Linked DNA regions of Homo sapiens: region 1 is linked to region 2. The links are contacts of gene promoters, found by promoter capture Hi-C in human tissues and cell types (Jung and others, 2019). All regions are on one chromosome and are shown on one strand. The core of a region is centred on a gene start or on the middle of the fragment in contact, and the rest is flanking DNA. Distances in the headings are between cores, read along the strand shown.

Region 1 (6,792 bases), core at 1,678-4,177, 65 kb before region 2:
TGGGGACACAGACATTAAGCAAATAGTTGCCCTGTATAATCATTTATTTATTTATTTATTTATTTATAGTTATTTTGAGGTTTGTTTGAGATAGAGTCTTGCTCTGATGCCCAGGCTGGAGTGCAGTGGCGTGATCTTGGCTCCCTGCAACCTCCGCCTCCCGGAGGTGGTTCTCCTGCCTCAAGTGATTCTCCTGCCTCTGCCTCCCAGGTAGCTGGGACTACAGGTGTGCACCACCATGCCCAGCTAATTTTTGTATTTTTAGTAGAGACAGGGTTTCGCCATGTTGGCCAGGCTAGTCTCGAACTCCTGACCTCAAGTGTGTTTCATGACACAAATTGCCTCCCTGGAAAGGGAAGTGGCATGAGGGAGGGCTGCCTGATGATTGTAATTACACTCCAGGCAGAGGACAAAGCAAGCAAAGAGGCCTGGAGGCCAGACCTAGTTGGAGGGTAGGAAGCAAAATCATTTATGGCTTTTTTCCTCAAGCTCTGAAATGGAAAAGTAATACACGAGTAAACTTGCGATTTCAGAATGGTTCACTTTTTTTTTTTTTTTTTGAGACTTTCTGTCACCCAGGCTGGAGTGCAGTGGTGCAACCATGGCTCACTGCAGCCTCAGTCTGGGTTCAAGTGATCCTCCCCACTGCAGCCTCCCAAGCGGCTGGGACTACAGGCATGCACCACCACACCTGGCTAATTTTTTGATATTTTTGTAGAGACAAGGTCTTACTTTTGTTCGCAGATTGGAATGGTCTGCTGTTAATTTTAGTTTTGTTTTTTTCTCCCATGTCTTTTTTTCTTTGAGATGAAGTCTGACTCCATTGCCCAGGCTGGAGTGCAGTGGCGTGGTATCAGCTCACTGCAACCGCCACTCCACCTCCCGGGTTCATGGTGCCTGGGACCAAGATCGTGGCCCACAGTGATTCTCCTGCCCCAGCCTCCTGAGTAGCTGGGATTACCGGCGCCTGCCACCATGCCCTGCTAATTTTTGTATTTTTGGTAGAGACAAGGTTTTGCCATGTTGGCCAGGCTGATGTTGAACTCCTGGCCTCAAGCAGTCCTCCCACCTCAGCCTTCCAAAGTGCTGAGATTACAGGTATAAGCCACCACGTCCAGACTCTCCCATGTCTTAAAAACCAATTTAACTGGTTAAGTTTTGCTTCCATGAAAAAGACAAACCTGTAAAATTGATTTAATTTGCTTTCTTTTTTCTCATTTTTTTTTGTTTAGATTGTTTTCTAAATATTAAAGTCTTAGGTGTGCCAGGATTTTTTTTTTCATTAAAAAAAAAACAAACATAGAGACAAGGTCTCGCTCTGTCACCCAGGCTGGAGTGCAGTGGCCTGATCATAGCTCATTGTACCCTTGAACCCCTGGGCTCAAGGAATCCCCTCACTTTAGCCCCTCAAATAGCTGGGGCAACAGGTATGAGCCATTGAGTCCAGCTTAACTTTTTATCTGGAAATGATCTTAAACTTACAGAAAAATTGAAAGGACACCAGTACACCTACCGTCCTCTGTTCACAGACACACAATGTTTTTTTTCTGACCCATTTGAAGTTAGCTTACATACATCATGGCTGCTTACTTCAATGTGTAGGTCCTCAATATACTTTTTAACTTTTTATTATAAAAATTTTTAAACAGAAAAGTTAATAGTCGTGTGAACAACCATATTCCTTTTCTTTTTTTATTTTTAAGTTTGTAGCTATCTATCTATTTATTTATTTATTTTGAGACCGGGTTATAAGGCTGGCTAATTTTTGTATTTTTGGTAGAGATAGAGTTTCGCCATGTTGCCCAGGCTGGTCCCGAACTCCCGGACTCAAGCGATCCACCAGCCTCAGCCTCCCAAAGTGCTGGGATTACACCTGAGCCACTGCACCTGGCCAACAGCCATATTCCTGATTTTAAAATTGTGATTGTGTTTTGTAATTGGTTTATCTATGCACATACACATACACAAATAGATTTTGTTTTTGTTCTCCTAAACTATTTGGGTTTTTTGTTTGTTTGTTTTTATTTGAGACAGAGTCTCATTCTGTCACCCAGGCCGGAATACAGTGGCGTGATCTTGGCTCACTGCAACATCCACCTCCTGGGTTCAAGGGATTCTCCTGCCTCAGCCTCCTGAGTAGCTGGGATTACAGGTGCCTGCCACCACATCTGGTTAATTTTGTGTGTGTGTATTTTTAGTATAGATGGGGTTTCACCATATTGGGCAGGCTGGTCTGACCTCAAGTGATCTGGCCTCCCAAAGTGCTGGATTACAGGCATGAGCCACTGCGCCCAGACTTCCTAAACTATTTGAAATGGAGTTGCACACCCACAGACACCTTCGGCAAGTCCCAAGAAAAAGGACTTTTCTCTTCCAGCACCACAGTGCTATTGTCACACTTTAATTATCTTCCAGCCTCTAATTATTAGAGTTTAATCTTCCCTCCATATTCAAATGTCAAGGTAAAAGATTAGAAAGATTTTTGTCATCTAAGGAGCTTGGAGTTTATCCATTAGGGCTTGGGGAGGATTGTTTTTTATGGAGGCATCTGAGAGGATTAGAAAGAAACCCAGAGTAAGGCCAGGCACAGTGGCTCACGCCTGTAATCCTAGCACTTTGAGAGGCCAAGGTGGGCGGATTGCTTGCGTCCAGGAGTGCAGGACCAGTCTGGGCAACACAGCAAAACTCCATCTCTACAAAAAAAAAATACAAAAAATTAGCTGGGTGTGGTGGTACACACCTGTGGTCCCCAATACTTGGGAAGCTTAGGTAGGAGGATCCTTTGAGCCTAGAAGGCAGAGGTTGCAGTGAGCCGTGATGGCACCACTGCACTCCAGCCTTGGCTGCAGAGCAAGACCCTGTCTCAAAACACAACAAAACAGCCGGGTGCTGTGGCTCACGCCTGTAATCCCAGCACTTTGGGAGGCCAAGGTGGGTGGATCACGAGGTCAGGAGATTGAGACCATCCTGGCTAACACAGTGAAACACCGTCTCTACTAAAAATACAAAAAATTAGCCAGGCGTGGCGGCGGGTGCCTATAGTCCCAGCTACTCGGGAGGCTGAGGCAGGAGAATGGCGTAAACCCGGGAGGAGGAGCTTGCAGTGAGCTGAGATCGTGCCACTGCACTCCAGCCTGGGTGACAGAGCGAGACTGCCTCAAAAAAAAAAAGAAAAAAGAAACTAGGGGTAAGTTAGAGACTGGATTTGAGATTGTGAACTGGAGACTGGAGGCTGCAGACAAAAACCCACTTCACACTCTGCACCGCAGTTTTCTCATCTGTAAAGAGGAAATCCTAGACCAGGCGCAGTGGCTCACGCTGTAATCCCAGCACTTTAGGAGGCTAAGGCAGGTGGATCGCTTGAGGTCAGGAGTTCGAGACCAGCCTGGCCAACATGGTGAAACCCCGTCTCTACCAAAAATACAAAAACTAGCCAGGTGTGGTGGCACACGCCTGTAATCCCAGCTACTCAGGAGGCTTAGGCAGGAGAATCACTTGAAACTTGTAGGTGGAGGTTGCAGTGAGAATGATGTCATCATAGCTCGCTACCGCCTCCAACTCCTAGGCTCAAGGGATCCTCCTGAGTAGCTGAGACCACAGGCATGTGCCACCATGCCCATCTAATTTTTAAAATTTTTTTGTTGCGACAGAGTCTGGCTTTGTTGCCCAGGCTGGTCTCTGTGACACACCTTTTTATAACCACTAACATTACTCAAACTATTTATTTATTTCTTTTTGTTGAGACAAGGTCTTGCTCTGTTGTCCAGGCTGGAGTGCAGCGGTGCAATCACAGCTCACTGCAGCCTCGAACTCCTGAGCTCAAGCGATCCTCTCGCCTCAGCCTTCTAAGCAGCTAAGACCACAGGTCCCCACGCCTGGCTAATTTTTTAATTTTCTGTAGAGACAGGTCTCACCATCGTACCCAGGTGAGTCTAGAACTGCTGGGCTCAACTGATCCTCCTACCTCAGCCTCCCAAAGTGCTGGGATTACAGGTGTGAGCCACTCTGCCCAGCCTTTGAACAATTTATATCATCCCAGTTTGCACATGAGGAAACAAGAAGCTGGCCAGTGGTCGATCCAGTACTTGACTTTAGGCAAAACCCAAGCTCTTTAACTATTCACCAAACTGCTCCTAAAAATATTTAGCATAGTTCTTGGCTTGAGGTAAAAGTTCTATAAATGTCAGCTGGTGTAGCTTGGCCAAGTTATAGCTTGTTGAAAGCTAATTCCTGAACAAATATTTAGTAAGTACCTACAATGTTCCAGATGCTTCTAAGGGCTGGGATTGGAGCAGGAAATGTGATAGAGTCACAGGATAACTCTAGCGTGTGGTGGCAGGGGAAGGGTCCTAGGGAGAAAACAAGGCCCCAAGAAAAGGGATTGGTAAACTGGGCTGGGGGAGACAGGATTTTGCAATTTTAAACAGGACAGTCAAGAAAAGCTGCATGGAAAGGTGACCTTTGAGCAAAGTCTGCAAAGAAAACAGGGAGCCATGTGGCTACGAGAGGGAAATGGCAAAGGGTCCTGGGTCACACCTGTAATCGCAGCATTTTAGGAGGTCGAGATGGAAGGATCGCTTAAGCCCGGGAGTTCAAAACTAGCCTGGGCAACTTGGTAAGACCTCCATCGCTACAAAAAAAATGTTTTTTTCTTTTTCTTTTGAGACGGAGTCTTGCTCTGTCACCCAGGCTGGAGTGCAATGGCACGATCTCGGCTCACTGCAACCTCTGCCTCCCAGGTTCAAGGGATTCTCCTGCCTCAGCTTCCTGAGAATAGCTGGGATTACAGGCATGCACCACGACACCTGGCTAATTTTTGTGTTTTTTTTGTTTTGTTTTGTTTTGTTCTGCTTTGTTTTTGAGATGGAGTCTTGCTCTGTCTCCCAAGCTGGAGTGCCGTGGCGCGATCTCAGCTCACTGCAACCTCCGCCTCAAGGGTTCCAGCAATTCTCCAGCTTCAGCCTCCTGAGTAGCTAGGACTACAGGCATGCACCACCATGCCCAGCTAACTTTTGTATTTTTACTAGAGATGGGGTTTCACCATGTTGGCCAGGCTGGTCTCGAACTCCTAACCTCAGGCGATCTGGCCTCCTCAGTCTCCCAAAGTGCTGGGATTACAGGGGTTAGCCACCAGACCCGGCCTAAAAAAATTTTTTAAATTAGCCAGGCTTGGCCGGTATCATGCCATTGCACTGCAGCCTGGGTGGCAAGAGGGAAGGAAACTCTGTCTCAAAAAAAAAAAAAAATAGTGGGGTTTGGTGGCTCACCCCTGTGGTCCCAGCTCCTCAGGAGGCTAAGGCAGGAGGATCACTTCAGCCCAGAAAGTCAAGGCTGCAGTGAGCCGTGTTCACGCCACTGTCCTCCAGCCTGGACAACAGAATGAGACCCTGTCTCAGAGAAAATAAAAAAGAGAGGGAAATGCATCAGGGGCAGAGGAATCAGACATTGCCAAGGCTGGGAGGCAGAACCTGGCTGGAGCAGAGGCGTGTAAGAGAGAGTGGTAGGCAGAGTAGGCAAGGACGTCAGAGGGCTGATGGGGCCATATCAGGTGGGGCCTTGAGGGCTGGCCATGGGGACTTTGCTTCTACCCTGAGTGAGATGGAGCTATGGATGTGAACTGATAGGGGTGTTCACGGGCTCCTTGGGAGGAGGGAAGGAGGGGCTGAGAGACCAGGGAGTAGGCTGCTGGGCTGGTCCAGGCAAGAGGTAACAGTGGACAGGACCAGGCGGAGTGAGAAGAGGTCAGATTTGGAATTATTGTGATCAGCAGACAGCTCTTACCTGGGGTGTGAGGGAAAGAGGAGCCCCAGAGGACTCCCCTGTTTTTGCAACTGGAAAGCAATGGTCAGCCATGGCAGGGTTTTGTCCTGGCATCAAGACAAGCGAGCCCTTGGCTGGGCACAATGGCTCATGCCTGTAATTCCAGCACTTTGGGAGGTGGAGGAGGGTGGATCACCTGAGGTCAGGAGTTTGAGACCAGCCTGGCCAACATGGCAAAACCCTGTCTGTACTAAAAATACAAAAATTAGTCAGGCCTGGTGGTGTGCACCTGTAATCCCAGCTACTGGGGAGGCTGAGGCAGGAGAATTGCTTGAACCCGGGAGGCAGAGGTTGCAGTGAGCCGAGATTGCGCCACTGCACTCAGCCTGGGTGACAAAGCGACACTCTGTCTCAAAAAAAAAAAAAAAAAGACAAGAGAGCCCAGGCTGATCCTGCCCTGTGTTCCCTCCAGCTTTCCTGCTCTGGGACCCTACCAAGGTGCCCCCACGACTGCAGGCTGTGACTGATGACCACATCCGGATGCACAAGGTGCTGCGGGAATCAGGCCTGAAGTACGTGGCTGTGATGCCGCCACACATAGGTAAGCAGGGCAGGGACCTGGTGGCACCAATGCCATCTGCCTGTTCCCTCCTGCCCTCTGGGGAGATCTGCAAGGCCTTCCCTGACCACCCTAAAATTGCAAACCTTCCTATGATATTGTGACATATATATTTGGCCTTTGTCCCTGTTTCCTGGCATACAACTCCTAAAATCCTTGGAATCTCCAAAATGGTAAATGTCTTTTTCTATGCTAATGAGTTCACTGAGAGCTGGCAGCCCCTAGGCAGCTTCAGGTCTGGTCACCAGAAAGACTAAGGCTGGATTACAGGGTTGGGACTTTCACCTCTGGGGAGTGGTGAGGGATTGAAGGTTGAGGGGATTACCACTGGCTAATGGTTTAATCCATTATGTCTATGGATTCTGGGGCTTCAGCCTCCTGAGTAGCTGGGATTACAGGCCTGCATCACCATG
Region 2 (6,942 bases), core at 2,086-4,585:
CAGGAGTTTAAGACCAGCCTGGGAAACATAGGGAAACCTCATCCCTACAAAAAATACAAAAAATATCCAGGCATGGTGGCCCGTGCCTGTAATCCCAGCTACTCGGGGGGCTGAGGTGGGAGGATCACTTGAGCCCGGGAGGTCGAGGCTGCAGTGAGCCTTGATGGTGCCCCTGCACTCCAGCCTAGGCAACAGAGCCAGACTGTTTCAACAAAAACAAAAACAAAGACTCAGGATGGCCTTGGGACAGGCCGTGGTGGGAAGGGAGACGTCCCTAGCCCTTGAGAATTCCCAGGGGTTGTTAAAGAGGACTCTGGGATGTTCCCTGGCAGAGCACAGCTTCGGGACCCCTCTGCCAGGAAGCCTGCCTGTCCTGGGGGACCCACTCCTACCAGGCTGGTTGCTCCCCACCTGCCCTCTGCCGGTGAGGGCACTTCTGCACATCCTGGCCTTCTCTTTCCTGTCTGGCTGGTTTGACTGCCCTGTCCACTCTGGCCCCACCCAGGAAGGCTGCTCCTGGTCCCCTCAAAGCCTCTACCCCAGAAACACAGCCGCCTCTTGGAACTAGGTCCCAGGGTCCTCAGCACCTGTCAGTGCTGGTCTCAGCTCCCAGGGGCCATGGGCCATCCATCCCTGCCATCCCAATTCAGGATCTAAGTCCTGAGGCTCCCAGCAGGGCCTCCAGCCTCCTCCATGTCTCTCTGTGATGTCCCACACTGGACTAAGGAGACTCAATATCCAGTCCCAAGTCTCGCCCCGACAGCCCCCCACTCTCCTCACATCTCCCTATCCTGTCTCAGTGGATGAGGGGCCTGGCAGAATCCCCCACTCACTTGAGTACCTTGTCCCTTCCAGCCAGCCCTCCTCAGGTCACTGTCTCACCACACACTTTTTCTTTGCCCCCACCAAACATGGCAGGAGTTATCTACACTCACAGTGCACCCCCATTTCCAAGACCCCAGCATTTGGGGTTTTCCTCCTACCTTGTCTGTGTCAGCAGTGACCTCCCCGTGGCCACGCCTGAGGGTTTCCTTTGTCTCTCTTGTCCTGACTCTTCAAGGCCCCTTCGATCTTCCTGACACTTGCTCCTCTTCCCCACACCTCTCTCTCCCCGTGCTCCTTGGGCACCGGAGGTTCCTCCCGGGCCCTTGTCCACCCCCACACCCTCCCTAGGGTGCATCACCCTCCCCCATGGCTTCCACGCCTCCTCTCTGTGCTGACAACTCCCAAACTCTCTCCTGCATCCCCTTGGGGACCCAGCAGCTTCTGCACCCCTTCTCCAGAGGTCTCCTGGTTTTTAGGAGGTTGTGTGGGTGGTGGTTCAGAGTTTGGCGCTGGAGCCAGGCTGCTTAGGGTCAGAGGCTGTCTCTGGCAGTCACTTGAGTGACCTTAGGCATTTTATTTTATCATTTATTTATTTATTTTTATTTTTTGAGACAGAGTCTCACTCTGTTGCCCATGCTGGAGTGCAGTGGTGCAATCTTGGCTCACAGCAACCTCCGCCTTCCAGGTTCAAGCGATTCTCATACCTCAGCCTCCCGATCTCAGCCTCCCAAGTAGCTGGAACTACAGGTGTATACCACCATGCCCAGCTAATTTTTGTATTTTTAGTGGAGTTGAGGTTTTGTCATGTTGGCAAGGCTGGTCTCAAACTCCTGACCTCAGGTGATCCGCCCACCTTGGCCTCTCAAAGTGCTGGGATTACAGGCGTAAGCCACCACTCCTGGCCAGGCACTTTAAAAACTTCTTTGTGCCTTGATTTTCTCTTCCATAAAATCCCTACTTTGTATGTTGTAAGGATCAGATAAGACTTCTAAAGAACTTCATCCTTGTTTAAATGTTTTGATGTTACATTTTCTTTTACTTTTTTTTTTTTTTTTGAGACGGAGTTTCACTCTTGTTGCCCAGGCTGGAGTGCAATGGCGCAATCTTGGCTCACTGCAACCCCACCTCCCGCGTTCAAGCAGTTCTCATACCTCAGCCTGCCGACCTCAGCCTCTTGAGTAGCTGGGACTACAGGCATGTGCTAACACACCCGGCTAATTTTGTATTTTTAGTAGAGACGGGGTTTCTCCATGTTGGTCAGGCTGGTCTCGAACTCCCGACCTCAGGTGATCCACCTGCCTCAGCCTCCCAAAGTGCTGGGATTACAGGCATGAGCCACCGAGCCCGGCCCGCTGTTAAATATTCTAATCTGGCTGGAGTGGTGGCTCATGTCTACAATCCCAGCACTTTGGAAGGTTGAGGCAGGAGGATCACTTGAGGCCAGGAGGATCACTTGAGACCAGCCTGGACAACATAGTGAGACCCCATTTCTACAAAAAATTAAAAAGATAAATAAAAATGAACACTTTTTTTTTTTTTTTGAGATGGAGTCTCGCTCTGTCACCCAGGCTGGAGTGCAGTGGTGCAATCTCGGCTCACTGCAACCTCCACCTCCCGGGTTCAAGCTATTCTTCTGCCTTAGCCTCCCGAGTAGCTGGGACTACAGGCGCCCTCCACTATGCCTGGCTAATTTTTAGTATTTTTAGTAGAGACAGAGTTTCACCGTGTTAGCCAGGATGGTCTCGATCTCCTGACCTTATGATCTGCCTTCCTTGGCCTCCCAAAGTGCTGGGATTACAGGCGTGACCCACCGCACCCAGCCAAAAATAAATACATTTTCTAATTTGGCCTCAACATCTCCCCCAAGCTGCTTCTTATCCATGTCCATTTCTCGGGGACTGCCCCTTCATCCCAGAGCCCTAGGCCCGTTCTTAGACAGCTCCCGCCTTTCCCTCAAACCGTCGGTCTCACGGCTGCTTCTCCTGGCCTTTTGAGTGTCTCATCCATTGGCCTCGCCCTCTCCTCCCCAACCTCTCCCATCTGTGCCCTGTCCTGGACTCTTTCCCTGGCTTGGGGCTTCCACTCTTACCCGCTCCAACCTATCCCTTTTCATACAGTAACTTTCTGACACTCATATCTGACCCTGCCCTCCCCTGCTCAAAGCCCTTCTGTGGCTCCCCAGTGCCCTCAGAACAGAATCCAAACTCCTTAGCCTGGCATTCAGGGCCTTTTACAACCTCACCCCACAGTAGCCACAGACTGGGACAGGAGTTTTCTGAACACAGACACACACACATCACATCTCCCAAGCTCAAGAAGCCCACCTTTCCTCACTCCTGCCTTATCCCCATTCCTGTATGCCCAAGGCCCACGATTAGACCCCCCTCTGTCAACACTTCACCTGTTTGGTCTTTGCAAGATTCCGCCACTGGGCGGGGGAGGGGGCCCAGCCTGGTACCCCACCCCCACTCCAGCCAGGGCTCAGGTCTCCAACAACAGAACCAGAGCCACTCAACAGCGCTGGAACCCATTCGGTGGGGCCTGGGGCCCCTCATCCCAAGCCAGGAGGGTTTCTGGGGAGGGGTGCAGCCCCTGGCAGACTGACAGTGTGGCCTGGGGGTTTGGGGGTGCCAGGGAAGCAGGGGCCAACCTCATAGGAGGAGACACGAGTGCGGTTCTCTTTCCCCCACTGGGGGGCCTGCTGTGTCAGCAGCCAGGCGGGAGGCCTGGGCGGCAGAGCCAGTGGTACAGGGGCCTGGGCAGGGCGGTGTCTGGCAGCAGCGGCACCATGTCCACCATCCAGTCGGAGACTGACTGCTACGACATCATCGAGGTCTTGGGCAAGGGGACCTTCGGGGAGGTAGCCAAGGGCTGGCGGCGGAGCACGGGCGAGATGGTGGCCATCAAGATCCTCAAGAATGACGCCTACCGCAACCGCATCATCAAGAACGAGCTGAAGCTGCTGCACTGCATGCGAGGCCTAGACCCTGAAGAGGCCCACGTCATCCGCTTCCTTGAGTTCTTCCATGACGCCCTCAAGTTCTACCTGGTCTTTGAGCTGCTGGAGCAAAACCTTTTCGAGTTCCAGAAGGAGAACAACTTCGCGCCCCTCCCCGCCCGCCACATCCGTACAGTCACCCTGCAGGTGCTCACAGCCCTGGCCCGGCTCAAGGAGCTGGCTATCATCCACGCTGATCTCAAGCCTGAGAACATCATGCTGGTGGACCAGACCCGCTGCCCCTTCAGGGTCAAGGTGAGTAGGGGTCGTCTAGGGTGGCTGCGTCCCTAGTTCCTTGTCTTTTTCCCAGCTTCTTCCAGCCCTAGATTTTTTTTTTAATTTTTTAAAATTATTATTATTATTATTTTTGAGACGGAGTTTCATTCTGTTACCCAGGCTTGAGTGCAGTGGCACAATCTCAGCTCACTGCAACTCCGCCTCCTGGGTTCAAGTGATTATCCTGCCTCAGCCTCCCGAGTTGCTGGGATTACAGGGATGCGCCACCACGCCCAGCTAATTTTTTTTTTGTACTTATCAGAGACGGGGTGATGATGGCATGATCTTGGTTCACTGCCTCCGCCTCCCGGGTTCAAGCGATTCTCCTGCCTCAGCCTCCTGAGTAGCTGGGAATACAGGTGCCCGCCACCCATGCCCGGCTAATTTTTGTATTTTTAGTAGAGATGGAGTTTCGCCATGTTGGCCAGGCTGGTCTCAAACTCCTGACCTTGTGATCCACCTGCCTCAGCCTCCCAAAGTGCTGGGATTACAGGCGTGAGCCACCACGCCCAGCCAATTTTTGTGTTTTTTGGTAGAAACAGGATTTCATCATGTTGCCCAGGCTGGTCTCAAAGTCCTGAGTTCAAGCAATCTGCCCACCTTGGCCTCAACAAAGTGCTGGAATTACAAGTGTGAGCCACCATGCCCAGTCCTCTGTCTGCTTTTGAGTTTGATACTGTCTGGATGCTTCTGAACCAGGGGCACCCTGAGGGCAAGGCTGGGGCTGACTTAATCATCGCTGTGTCCCTGACATCTCCCAGCACTGCAGTCATGGAGCCAGTGCTAAATGAATGCTTGCCAGAGACACAGAGACAGAAAAAGGTGGATTATTCTGCCCCAAGAGGTGGAAGGACAGAGACCCAGGGAAGCAGGGACTTCCACAAACACAGCAGGGGACAGACAGGACGGATCCACAGCACCTGGCCGGCATTATCACCCCCACTGTCTCTGTGGAAGGAATGAATTCATTCCACAAACATAGACTAAGTGCCCAGGGTCACTCAGCCTCTTGGGTACTGAAGCCCTGGCACTCTGGGATCAGAATAGCAATTAATAACCATTTCATGATACTGCTTTCTGCAAGTGAAAGGTGAGGGATGGCCAGGTGCGGTGGCTCACGCCTGTAATCCCAGCACTTTGGGAGGCCGAGGCGGGTGGATCACCTGAGGTCAGGAGTTCAAGACCAGCCTGACCAATATGGTGAAACCTCGTCTCTGCTAAAAGTATAAAAATTAGCCGGGTGTGGTGGCGGGCACCTGTAATCCTAGCTACTCCAGAGGCTGAAGCAGATAAATCGCTTAGAACCCGGGAGGCAGAGGTTGCAGTGAGCTGAGATTACGCCACTGCACTCCAGCCTGGGCGACAGAGGAAGTCCCTCTGTCTCAGAAAAAAAAAAAAAAAAACTAAACTAAAATTAGCTAGGCGTGGTGGCACATACCTGGAATCCCAGTTAGTTGGGGGGCAGAGGCAGGAGACTCACTTGAACTTGGGAGGCAGAGGTTTTGCAGTGAGCTGAGATCACGCCACTGCACTCCAGCCTGGGCGACAGAGCTCGACTCTGTCTCAACACAAAACAAAAACAAAAAACTGAGAAATGGCTGAATGAAAAGCAGAAAAACTCAGAGAAGGAAACAGGCTGGCCAGGTGTGGTGGCCCAAGCCTGTAATCCCAGCACTTTGGGAGGCTGAGGCAGGTGGATCACCTGAGGTCAGAAGCTCAAGACCAGCCTGGCCAACATGGTGAAATCCTGTCTCTATTAAAAATACAAAACTTAGCCAGATGTGGTGGGGTGCACCTGTAATCCCAGCTACTTGGGAGGCTGATGCAGGAGAATCGCTTGAACCCATATGGGGGCGGAGGTTGCAGTGAGCCGAGATCATGCCGCTGCACTCCAGCTTGGACAAAAGAGTGAAGCCACCTGAAAAAGAAAAAGAAAAAGAAACAGGCCAAGAGAGAGTCACGGAGATTCAGGGTGAAAATGGCAGACAGCTCCACCAGAGGCATGGGGAGAGACAAAGGCTTTCGGCCATTCGCAATGTTGGTTCCGCAGCTGTTGGCCAAGCACCTGTCATGTGTCAAAGGCCTGTGACGAGTGTGAACAGTGCCTGAAGAGGAAGACAGAAGAGGACCGGGACTTCAGGGAGGTGTCTTCCTAGTGGACGACACAGAGACAGAGATGGAAAGAGAGAGAGAGACACTGAGAGACAAGAGACAGGCAAGTGATGGAGAGGCAGTTGCAAAGAAAGAACGAGAGGTACAAATGGCCAGGCACAGTGGCTCATGCCTAGAATCTCAGGACTTTGGGAGGCCGAGGTGGGAGGATTACTAGAGCCCAGGAGTTCAAGACCAGCCTGGGTAACATGGTGAAAACCCATCTCTACTAAAAATACAAAAATTAGCTGGGCATGGTGGCATGTGACTGTAGTCCCAGCTACTTGGGAGGCTGAGGCAGGAGAATCGCTTGAACGTGGAAGGTGGAGGTTGCCTTGAGCCGAGATTGCGCCACTGCATTCCAGCCTGGGTGACAGGGTGAGCCACTGTCTCAAATGAGAGACAGAGAGAGAGAGATACAAGCAAGAGATGGAAAGAGAATGAAGGAACTCAAAGCCCATACATACATTCATTCATTCACTCATTATTTACTGAGCCCCTGCTGTGTGCCAAGCCCTGTTCTAGGCATCTAGGGATACAGTATTGAACAAAATGGATAAATTCTTTGCCCTCGTGGGACTGACATCCTCGCTGGGGAGAGAAATGCTGAGAGAGGCCAGGTGCAGGGCCTCATGCCTATAATCCCAGCATGTTGGGAGGCTGAGGCAGGAGGATCACTTGAGCCCAGGAGC

The links. The method cuts DNA at HindIII sites, captures the fragments that hold promoters and counts their contacts. A contact is called where the count stands out against the background at its distance.
Region 1: a fragment that was not itself captured here is called in contact with the fragment with the promoter of HIPK4 in region 2 in 9 of the 25 tissues and cell types used here (IMR-90 fibroblasts, bladder, dorsolateral prefrontal cortex and 6 more).

Annotation. Positions count from the first base shown.
Region 1 is chr19:40,450,933-40,457,724 of GRCh38, reverse strand. BLVRB (biliverdin reductase B) reads left to right here. Exons shown (of 5, transcript NM_000713.3): 4 at 6,233-6,361. Among named protein-coding and RNA genes, the nearest start is that of SERTAD3-AS1, 9.8 kb to the right of the region's middle. The HindIII fragment of the contact is 7,951 bases long and covers 1-6,792 here.
Region 2 is chr19:40,386,574-40,393,515 of GRCh38, reverse strand. HIPK4 (homeodomain interacting protein kinase 4) reads left to right here and starts at 3,335. Exons shown (of 4, transcript NM_144685.5): 1 at 3,335-4,078. The coding sequence starts at 3,614. RefSeq lists enhancers at 2,883-3,432, 3,433-3,982. The HindIII fragment of the contact is 19,093 bases long and covers 1-6,942 here.